Regions from separate parts of the Homo sapiens genome. Here region 2 is linked to region 1. The links are contacts of gene promoters, found by promoter capture Hi-C in blood cells and fetal thymus (Javierre and others, 2016). All regions are on one chromosome and are shown on one strand. Each heading gives the region's core, a stretch centred on a gene start or on the middle of the fragment in contact. The rest is flanking DNA. Distances are from core to core; before and after follow the strand shown.

What was found. Contacts are between HindIII fragments. The CHiCAGO score rates a contact against its expected background, and 5 or more counts as called.
Region 2: the fragment with the promoter of SRRT here is called in contact with the fragment with the promoter of ZKSCAN1 in region 1 in 1 of 17 cell types (neutrophils); the score reaches 7.8 in neutrophils.

What each region holds. Positions count from the first base shown.
Region 1 is chr7:100,012,278-100,017,590 of GRCh38, forward strand. It overlaps ZKSCAN1 (zinc finger with KRAB and SCAN domains 1), which reads left to right and starts at 3,319. Exons shown (of 6, transcript NM_003439.4): 1 at 3,319-3,449. RefSeq lists a silencer at 3,405-3,574. The HindIII fragment of the contact is 19,683 bases long and covers 1-5,313 here.
Region 2 is chr7:100,872,040-100,877,352 of GRCh38, forward strand. It overlaps SRRT (serrate, RNA effector molecule), which reads left to right and starts at 3,064. Exons shown (of 20, transcript NM_015908.6): 1 at 3,064-3,289; 2 at 3,534-3,673. The coding sequence starts at 3,552. It overlaps TRIP6 (thyroid hormone receptor interactor 6), which reads left to right. Exons shown (of 9, transcript NM_003302.3): 8 at 585-705; 9 at 1,133-1,415. The coding sequence ends at 1,264. RefSeq lists enhancers at 1,949-2,613, 2,614-3,279, 2,856-2,905, 3,116-3,175 and a silencer at 3,316-3,545. The HindIII fragment of the contact is 10,507 bases long and covers 1-5,313 here.

The sequences.
Region 1 (5,313 bases), core at 2,069-4,568:
TTTTTGTTTTGTTTTGTTTTTTTTAAGACAGAGTTTCGCTCTTATTGCCCAGGCTGGAGTGCAATGGTTCAATCTCGGCTCACCGCAACCTCTGCCTCCTGGGTTCAAGCGATTCTCCTACCTCAGCCTACTGAGTAGCTGGGATTACAGGCATGCACCACCATGCCCAGCTAATTTTGTATTTTTAGTAGAGGCGGGGTTTCTCCGTGTTGGTCAGGCTGGTCCCGAGCTCCTGACCTCAGGTGATCTGCCCGCCTTGGCAGCAGCACCCCATCTGGAGTGGCCACTGCCATGATGCTGGCTGCAGTGAGTGAGGCATAGCTGGGATCGCAGCACTCCACAGAGCTGGAGGGAGCTGGGAACACATGGAAGCCCCCACTCCTTCCAAGTTGGAGGGACAGGAGACCCTCCCTCCCAGGAGTAGCTGCAGCCACCCAGTCACAGCCGCAAACCCGGGCTCCCCTTCAGCATTGACTCCACCAGCTTTCACAACACAGAAGTCAAACTTAGGCAACCACAGTTTCTAGGGTGCCCTTCAGGAACTTTTATTTGTTCAGGGCAGCCAGCCAATTTTTAAGCACAATGTCTCTTTGTAATCATAAATCATTAGTTTCATGATTCTTTCAACACTTTCATCTTAGAGTCCTTTCAAAACTCTTGGGTGGATACCACCTGATCTTGTCAGCTGAGCTTGTTTGCTGACAGGTCTAGAACCCTGGGGTTACAAACGTTATTGCCTATATTCCCTCTGACTATCTGTGGGACCAGTAATCTCATTTCTTGGAATCCATCCTTAGGAAGTAATCAAAGATGTCGAGGCCAGGCGCGGTGGCTCACACTTGTAATCCCAGCACTTTGAGAGGCTGAGGTGGGTGGATCACTTGAGGCCAGGAGTTCGAGACCAGCATGGCCAACATGGTAAAACCCCATCTCTACTAAAAATACACAAATTAGCCAGGCATGGTGAGTGCACACCTGTAATCCTAGCTACTTGGGAGGCTGAGGCATGAGAATCACTTGAGCCCAGGAGGCGGAGGTTGCAGTGAGCTGAGATCACGCCATTGCACTCCAACATGGCAACTGAGGGAAACTCTCTCAAAAAAAAAGAAAGAAAAGAGGCCAGGTGCAGTGACTCACACCTGTAATCCTAGCACTTTGGGAGGCCGAGGCTGGTGGATCACTTCCTGCCTCTGCCACCCCTGAGACAGCAAGAGCAACCCTTCCTCTTCCTCCTCAGCTTACTCAGTGTGAAGACGATGAGTATGAAGACCTTGATGATGATCTATTTCCACTTACTGAATAGTAAATATATTTTCTCTTCCTTAAAAAACAGTGTTCACATGATATGAATGTAGCAGATACTTCCAGGATACCAGCCTCCTCTTCAATACAACTGCAACTATGGTTTTGAACAGTGTTTAAAATAATATCAATAAATATTTATTTGTATATGAAAACAGGAAAAAGGTAAACTAAAGCCATGGGGATTGTGTTAGGGTGGAGAGATTACCGGTAATTATTTTTCTCCATTTTGCAAATTTCCTTTAATGATACTGTTGTTGCTTCTTTTTTGGATACAGAGTCTAGCTCTGTCCCCAGGCTGGAGAGCAGTGGCACGATCTCGGCTCACTGCAGCCTCCGCCTCTGGAGTTCAAGCGATTCTCCTGCCTCAGCCTCCCAAGTAGCTGGGACTATAGGCGTGTGCCACCACGCCCAGCTAATTTTTGTATTTTTAGTAGAGACGGGGTTTCACCATATGGGCCAGGATGATCTCAATCTCTTGACTTCGTGATCCACCCACCTTGGCCTCCCAAACTGCTGGGATTACAGGCATGAGCCACCGTGCCCGGCCCTTTTTTTCTTTTTTGAGATGGGATCTTGCTCTGTGGCCCAGACTGGGGTGCAATGGCACAATCATAGCTCACTGCAGCCTCAACCTCCTGGGCTCAATCTATCCTTCTACCTCAGCCTCCCAAGCAGCTGGGACCACTGGCACACACTACCCTGCACCCAGCTAATTTTAGTATTTTTTGTAGAGAGAGGGTCTCATTACGTTGCTTAGGCTGGTCTCCAACTCTTGGGCTCAAGAATCCTCCCGTCCCAGCCTCCCGAAGTGCTAAGATTACAGGCTTGAGTCATCGTGTCTGGCCCTGTCATTGCTTTTTAGTTTTCAAACATTTTTTAAAAAGTAAATCTGGCCGGGCACGGTGGCTCACGCCTGTAATTCCAGCACTTTGGGAGGCTGAGGCGGGTGGATCACAAGGTCAGTAGATCGAGACCATCCTGGCCAATATGGTGAAACCCTGTTCTCTACCAAAAATACAAAAATTAACCAGGCATGGTGGTGTGCGCCTGTAGTCCCAGGTACTCAGGAGGCTAAGGCAGGAGAATCGCTTGAACCTGGGAGGTGGAGGTTGCAGTGAGCCAAGATGGTGCCACTGCACTGCAGGCTGGGTGACAGAGCGAGACTCCATCTAAAAAAAAAAAGTAAATCTCTCCAAGCAGTAAGAGTCATGCAACCAAGCTACTGAGTTTCTCCCATGAACTTGTCTCGGAACATAGTGGAAAGTCACAACCATTAAAGCCTGTAGTCCCCCCCACCCTTGCACAACGTGGCCCCCTCTTATGCGTGCCTTACCCTGCAAGGCAAAGATGAAGGCTGTAACTGTGGTAGGTTGTGAAAGCACTTTGAAGGTAAAAGTGTCTGTTGTTACTCTGAAAACTCCTTTTAAACGGCTATAATAGCATATGCCACATGAGCAAAGCACAGAACCTTATAACTATGCTTGCTTGTGGAAAGACATCCCTTGTCCACGGGCCAAGTATTTGAAAATACCACTCCATATAGCTCCAGGGCCCTGAGAGAAGCTACCGTGGCAGCTTTGGGAAACCAGCCACCCTTGGCTTCACTTTGATCTTCCTCAGTCTACATCCTTGTTTCAGTTCCTTTGCCACAGACATACAATTACCAAGTACTATATTGCTTGATAATAACTATAATTACTACAAGGACTGCCTGAGATGAAAAAGACAGGTGAAATCGAACTTTCACATGGACTGGTGTCTGAGCTGGAGAGTCTGTTTGAGTTTGAGTAGGGGAAAGCCTGAAACCCCCCACCACCTGCTCCCGTTAGTCCCTGCATTAACTAGGGGCGGACTGGGACCTGATCCTCCAAGCTGGAGGCTTGAAAACTCAAGGGCAGGCGCCTGGTCCAGCGATTCGGAAACCGAGATGCAAAGTCCTCCCGCGCTCCTAGAGAGGACCCGGAAGCGCGGCGCGGTCCCGGAAGACGAGGTGGTGACACGCTTCCGGCCTTTGTGACTCATTGTGTCTGTGTCGAGGCGTCGGGAGGGCCTAAGTCCGTGTGCGGTGCCCTTCGGCCGGCCTGAGCCCCAGAGTCAGCTCCCCTTTCTCGCCCAGCGCCCCCAGGCCGCTCCCGGGGCTCACGGTGAGACTTGGGGCCGGCCTCTGGGGTGGGAGGGCGGGGCCGCAAGGGTGTGTGCGCGAGGGTGGGCTCCGCAGCTGCGGCCCTGGGACCCCCTCCAGGCGGCCCCGCTGTTGTGCGAAGAGAGTCCATGCCCCTGCCTCCTGGCCGGGCCCGGCCGTAGAAAGCGCCGTTCTTCCTGGGAGACGTCCCCGCCCCACCCCCAGGATCAGGCGGGGAGGGGGCGAGGGTTTCAGTGGCTGAGGGTGCCCGGAGACCCGGGGAGAAGCCGTCTGTGGGCCCCTCTCCCGCAGTGTCGTCATCGCCCTTTGACGTTTCTGCAAACGGGGTCGCGAGCGAACCGACCCCGGTCTTGATTTTTCTGCTCTCCCTTAGTCGCCATTTGCTTTGATTCCGGTGAGGTGTCTTTTTCCCCCCCCGGTTCCTTCGGGACCTCGAGGTGAAATGAGCGGAAGGATGAGAGATGGACACATTTTGAGGTGCCGCATACGTTTCCAGACCTGCCTTTCCTTCTCCCACCCTCATCACTGAGCGGTGATTAAAGAGTATTTGAAGCCTAGTCATAGTGGATAAATAGGTGATTGGGATCTAGTAGAGATTATATACACCCCACTCTTTCAGCTTGATGGAATGCTTTGAAGGCTTTGGAAAAGAGCTGTCCGGGACGTTAGGTGGATTTTTCAATTCTGGATAGTTGCTCTGTTTGACATGGAGTGGGGTGAGAAGTGAAGGGAATTTGTGGAAATTGCACTGTGTCACTAGGAGACTGATTAGCTGAGTGACCTTGGATAAGACGAGACACTCACCAAGTCTTAATTTCGTCATCAATAAAAACTAACTGGATTTTCTCAAAAGGCCCTTCCGACTTCGAAATGATTTGGTCAATGTAATTGAAGAATTAACTACAGTTTAGCTTGACACTCCTCCATCCCTCCCCTCCCTTTCCTGCAGTGCCCCCTGTACACAGTAAGATACTTTCATTATAGAGAGTGGCTGTTCCATGGCCTGGGACCAAAGAAAGCATTTATTGTACGGGCCAGTGCTAGGCGGATTGGAGGCGGTCAATAAATACTTGTTGAATTGAATTGTGGAGAATTCATTGTAACCACATCAGCAAAGCACTGTTAGTATATATGCTGAACAAATGTGGAGAAATCGCTGTTTTACATAGGAAACCATGGTGATTTGCCCCAGAATGTGTATCCAGGTTTGTATCTTCTCTGAATTAACATATAAGATTCTTGTTTATTATTTCAGGCAGTTTTCACCACTCTTAAAATACAAACGAGGAAGCTAGCTACTTAGTCTTTTGCTCATTCTCGATTTAAAAGCATTTAAAATACAGATGAATAGCATATTAAATCTAACATTTTCATTCTGTGGGAGTATCAATATTCTTTGAATAGCTAGCTGTCTTTTAAGGTAGCTTTTTCATATTAAAACATTTGATTGCTCTTTAAAAAAATGAGTGTAAAGGGCAAAGGGCAATTTATTTAAAAAAAAATTTTTTTTTTTTTGAGACAGAGTCTTGCTCTGTCGCCCAGGCTGGAGTGCAGTGGTGCGATCTCGGCTTACTGCAACCTCTGCCTCCCGAGTTCAAGCGATCCTCCTGCCTCCGCCTCCCGAATAGCTGGGACTACAGGCATGTGTCCCAAGGCTTGGCTGATTTTTGTATTTTTAGTAGAGACAGAGTTTCGCCATGTTGGCCAGGCTGGTCTCGAACGCCTGATCTCAGGCAGTCCGCCAACCTCAGCCTCCCAAAGTGCTGGGATTACGGGCGTGAGCCACTGTGTGCCCAGCCTTTGTTTACATTTTCAAGACTATGCCCTGGAAAAATACTGGGCTGTTTGGAACACAGCCTTTGAGC
Region 2 (5,313 bases), core at 1,814-4,313, 860 kb after region 1:
AGTCTCACTCTGTCACCCAGGCTGGAGTGCAGTGGCACGATCTCAGCTCACTGCAACCTCCACCACCTGGGTTCAAGTGATTTGCCTGCCTCAACCTCCCCAGTAGCTGGGATTACGGGCGCATGCCACCACGCCTGGCTAGTTTTTTTTTTTTTTTTTTTTTTTGTATTTTTAGTAGAGACAGGCTTTCATCATGTTGGCCAGGCTGGTCTCAAACTCCTGAGCTCAAGCGATCCACCTGCCTCGGCCGCCCAAAGTGCAGGGATAGCAGGCGTAAGCCACTGCACCCAGTCTTCTTCTTTGTATTTTAATAAAGACAGCGTCTTGCTGTGTTGCCTAGGCTGGTCTTGAACGCCTGGCCTCAAGTGATCCTCCTGCCTTGGCCTCCCAAAGTCGGGGGATTGCAGGCTAGAGCCACTGCACCTAGCCTCTCTCATTCTCTTTGACATCGTCCCTTCCCCAAGACCTAAGGCCATACCTCTGGCCTCTCTGATTCCCTCCTGTGCCCCACCTTCTCTGGGTTCCATTGTTGGTGCCCTGCAACCCCAAGGCTTGATGGCCTTCTTGGTTCTCTTCCCCTGCAGGAAGTTTGCCCCAAGATGCTCAGTGTGCGGTGGGGCCATAATGCCTGAGCCAGGTCAGGAGGAGACTGTGAGAATTGTTGCTCTGGATCGAAGTTTTCACATTGGCTGTTACAAGTGCGAGGTCAGGGGCCCCCAGCACGTGCAAGGGGCTGGCAGTGTCTAGGGTGCTGGGTAGAGCATGAGGGGGAACACAGAGGTCTGGGGTTGATGGAAACCTGTTGCTTCTTTCTTTTTTTTTTTTTTTTGAGACGGAGTCTTGCTCTGTTGCCCAGGCTGGAGTGCAGTGGCACAATCTTGGCTCACTGCAACCTCCACCTCCCGGGTTCAAGTGATTCTCCTGCCTCAGCCTCCTGAGTAGCTGGGATTACAGGTGCTGGCCACCATGCCTGGCTAATTTTTGTATTTTTAGTAGAGACAGGGTTTCACCATATTGGCCAGGCTGGTCTTGAACTCCTGACCTTGTGATCCTCCTGCCTCGGCTTCTCAAAGTGCTGGGATTACAGGCGTGAGCCATCGCGCCCGGCCAATTGTTGCTTCTTTTTCAACAGGAGTGTGGGCTGCTGCTCTCCTCTGAGGGCGAGTGTCAGGGCTGCTACCCGCTGGATGGGCACATCTTGTGCAAGGCCTGCAGCGCCTGGCGCATCCAGGAGCTCTCAGCCACCGTCACCACTGACTGCTGAGTCTTCCTAGAAGTACCTGCTGGGTTCTCAGTTCCAGTTCCCATCCTTTGATTGATCACTCTCCCTGACATCCACCTGTATGACTTTGTCACCAAATGCTGTCTTCTCTTTCTCCAATCAAGAAATAATAATCCCTCGAGTTTACAAAACACTTCCAAGTCTGTTGTCTCATCTGATTCTCCCAGTAGCCCATTACAGGCCCAGTCATTGTTACTGCCTGCATTTTTTTTCTTTTTTTTTTGAGACGGAGTCTGGCTCTGTCACCCAGGCTGGAATGCAGTGGTGCCATCTCGGCTCACTGCAACCTCTGCCTCCCAGGTTCAAGTGATTCTCTTGCCTCAGCCTCTTGAGTAGCTGGGATTACAGGCGCCCGCCACCACGTCTGGCTAATTTTGTATTTTTAGTAGAGACGGGGTTTCACCACCTTGGTCAGGGTGGTCTTGAACTCCTGACCTCAAGTGATCTGCCCGCTTCACCCAACCAAAGTGCTGGGATTACAGGCGTGAGCCACCGCCCTTGGCCACTGTCTGCATTTTTACATGTGAGGATGTCAGAGCTGAGAGGTGACTCCCCCAGATTGCATGGTTCTTAAATGGTGGAACCTGGGTCTTTTTGACTCAGGTCCAGTTTTTTTTGACAACTCTTGTAATCCGTCACTACCCTCCTCTCAGTGCTGGGAGCAAGCACGCCTCAGGGAGGAGGCAAGATTTCCTCTATGTATCTATTTTGAGACAGGGCCTCACTCTGTTCCCCAGGCTAGAGTGCAGTGGTGCAATCAAGGCTCACTGCAGCCCTGAACTCCTGGGCTCAAACAGTCCTCCTGGCTTAGCCTCCCCAGTAGCTAGGACCACAGGGGCATCCCACCAAGCCCAGTTATTATTTTTTTGTGTGTAGATGGGATCTTGCTATGTTGCCCAGGCTAGTCCTGAACTCTTGGGCTTAAGTCCTCCCTCCTCGACCTTCCCAAGTGCTGGGATCACAGGTGTGAGCCAATGTGCCTGGCCCTAAATATTCTGTAAAGGGGCCTTGCTATGTTGCCCAGGCAGGTCTCCAACTCCTGGGCTCAAGTGATTCTCCCACGTCGGCCTCCCAAAGCGCTGGGATTGCAGGCGTGAGCCATCTCAGCTGGTCTTCCTATTAAGTCTCACACTCAATTCACTGAGAGGGGCCTTGGTGTTACTCCCGGGGGTGGTAATCCATTGAATCTGGGCGGTCCATACTCTGTTTAGGGCGTTAACTTACAGCCTATTTCATCCAAATACTGAGCGGGGTTAAGACTGAGATCTGCCAATTTTACTTAAAGACGGGGCGTCTTTGTCGAGGAAAAGCAGGAACGGCGGACTTTGCATTTAGTGCGCACTGTGGCACCCAATTTTGGCTGGATATTTGGAGCAGAAAATGGTGGGATACGATGCTTTAAAATGGTTGCTTCCACCTTCCATCCCCTAAGCGCCCGCGCTTCCCAAGCCCACGCCCTGCCCGAGGAGGGGACGAAATCACCCCCGGTGAGGTCAGGAGGCCCGTGGGGGGAACATGGCTGGATGAGAACCGTCTTAGGACCCCGACACATCTGGGGTCGCGCGATCCTCGACTTCCGCTCTCCCTTCGCGCCCAGAGGGCTTGTTCGCCTCCCGAGGCCGCGCTTGGCCCAGCCGAGGTCCCGTAGTTCCTAACGCTCGAGCCGTTATCGTCTCGAAAAGCCGCGCGAGACTTGCGAGATCCCCGCCCCTTTCCCATCACGCCCTGCTCTCCCCGCCCTTCGCGCTCGGTTTGTTAGTTCCAGTTCCGGCCGCGAGGGTGGAGCTTTGTGCCTCGGAGGCGTGGGTGACGCAGGCGCAGCGCGGGCTGCGCGCGCTACTGCCCATCCCCGGTTGTCCCACTTTTGTTCGCCTCTCTTCGGCCCTCTACTCAAGAGCTCCGTCTCCGTCTCGCCCTCCTCGAAGTCCTCGTCGCGCGCCCGCGACCCAGGTCGCCCTGAAATCTAGCCCGTCCGAGCGCGAGTCCAACGGCCGCGGCCGCACCAAGGTGGGGGAGGGGAGGAGCCTGGGGGGCCCCGCTGGGGCGGGAGAGGAACCGGGGTCCACGGGGGCGGGCGCGGAGAAACTCGGGGCGAGTGGAGGTGTTGGAGCCGCGTTCTCAGGCCTAGGATGGTGGGGGCCGCGGAGGGCTGGCCTTGGCGGGAGGGAAGCGGGCGAGCTGCCCGCGAGGGACGGTCCCTTCCTCCGCTCGTCCTTTTGCACCACTCCTACCGCCTCTCCCCGGTCCCCAGGCCCCCTCAGACCGTGCCATGGGTGACAGTGATGACGAGTACGATCGAAGGCGCAGGGACAAGTTCAGAAGAGAGCGCAGCGACTACGACCGTTCCCGCGAGAGAGATGAAAGACGTCGAGGGGACGATTGGAATGACAGGTGAGCCGTTTTTAACTTCATCTTGTCCCCGTTTCATGCCGTTTCACTCCACCCGCGTCGCTTTTCTTTCTCCCCCTTGTAATTTTTATGAGGGCGAATCCTATGAAATGGCTCATTGGACCGTTTTCTGTGGTTCAGCCTATTTGCTGTTGGCCAAATAACTAGCTGTGGCTTGGTTTTTGAAATTCTCTGCAGATCAGAGCTATAGAGCTAAGAGTTTGAGTATGAAGAAGCACTGTTTATACATGCACGAAAAGCGTGCTTTTTTGCTTTTTTTTGTTTTGTTATTGAGATGGGGTCTTGTTCTGCTGCCCTGGCTGGAGTGCATTGATGCAGTCGTAGCAGCCTCCACCTCCCGGGCTCAACCGAGCCTCCCGCCTCAGCCTCTTGAGAAGCTGGGACTCCAGGGGGAGGCCATCACGCCCGCCTAACTTTTAAAAATTATTATTGTTATTTCGAGACAGAGTCTTGCCCTGTCGCCCAGGCTGGAGTGCAATGGCGCAATCTTGGCTCACTGCAACCTTCGCCTCTGGGGTTCAAGTAATTCTCCTGCCTCAGCCTCCCGAGTAGCTGGGATTACAGGCACCTGCCACCACGCCCGTCTAATTTTTGTATTTTTAGTAGAGACGGGGTTTCACCATGTTGGCTAGGCTGGTTTGGAACTCTCGACTTTAGGTAATCCACCCAGCTCGACCTCCCAAAGTGCTGGGATTACAGGCATGAGCCAGTGCTTGGTCTAAAATTATTTTTTGTAGAGACAGCGTCTTGCTCTGTTGCCCAGGTTGTAAATTATATTTTAGGAGGATTGCTTCAGAAAAATAATAATATAGAGTTGATCTGACTGGAGAGGTCGTCAGATTATTTCCCTGACAATATATGATTAGGTTTCTTGTCACTGTTTTGCCTAAAATCTCAGAGTTCATAGGGCGGTGCTGATTGGATTGATTATAAGATGTGGTTATTGACCTTAGGGTGTTACAGTGAGCTTGGCATGGGGGATCAGAATGGCAGTGGATGTATTCTGTAAATGAGTATATATAGTGGAAGTTATAAAGAGGGTAAGCATTGAGGGAACAGATCTCTAAAGGAGGGGAGCGGTGCTGGAGGTTGTGTGTCAGGGACCCACTGGAAAGTGACACTTGGCTAGACTTGGAAAGATGAGTGGGAATTCCCCAGACACGAGTGACATGAACAGCTTGGAGTTGTGGACATAACGTGTGATTTTAGCATATTCTAGTTTGGTTAGAGTCCTGTTTCTCAGGATGTCCACAGACCATAGGGGGTCTCCGAGGCTAAAATTAGTTTTTGTGGTAATGTTTACATATTATTGCCATTTCCACTGTTGGTGCCATAGCAATGATGGGTAAAACCGCTGATGCTTTACCAAACATCAAGGCAGTGACAGCAAAGAGTTAAAAAAAAAAAGCCAGCCGGGCCCAGTGGCTCACACCTGAAATCCCAGCACTTTGGGAGGCCGAGACGGGCAGATCACGAGATCGAGAGATTGAGACCATCCTGGCCAACATTGTGAAACCCTGTCTCTACTAAAAATACAAAAGTTAGCCAGGCATGGTGGTGCGCGCCTGTAGTCCCAGCTACTTGGGAGGCTGAGACAGGAGAATTGCTTGAACCCAGGAGGC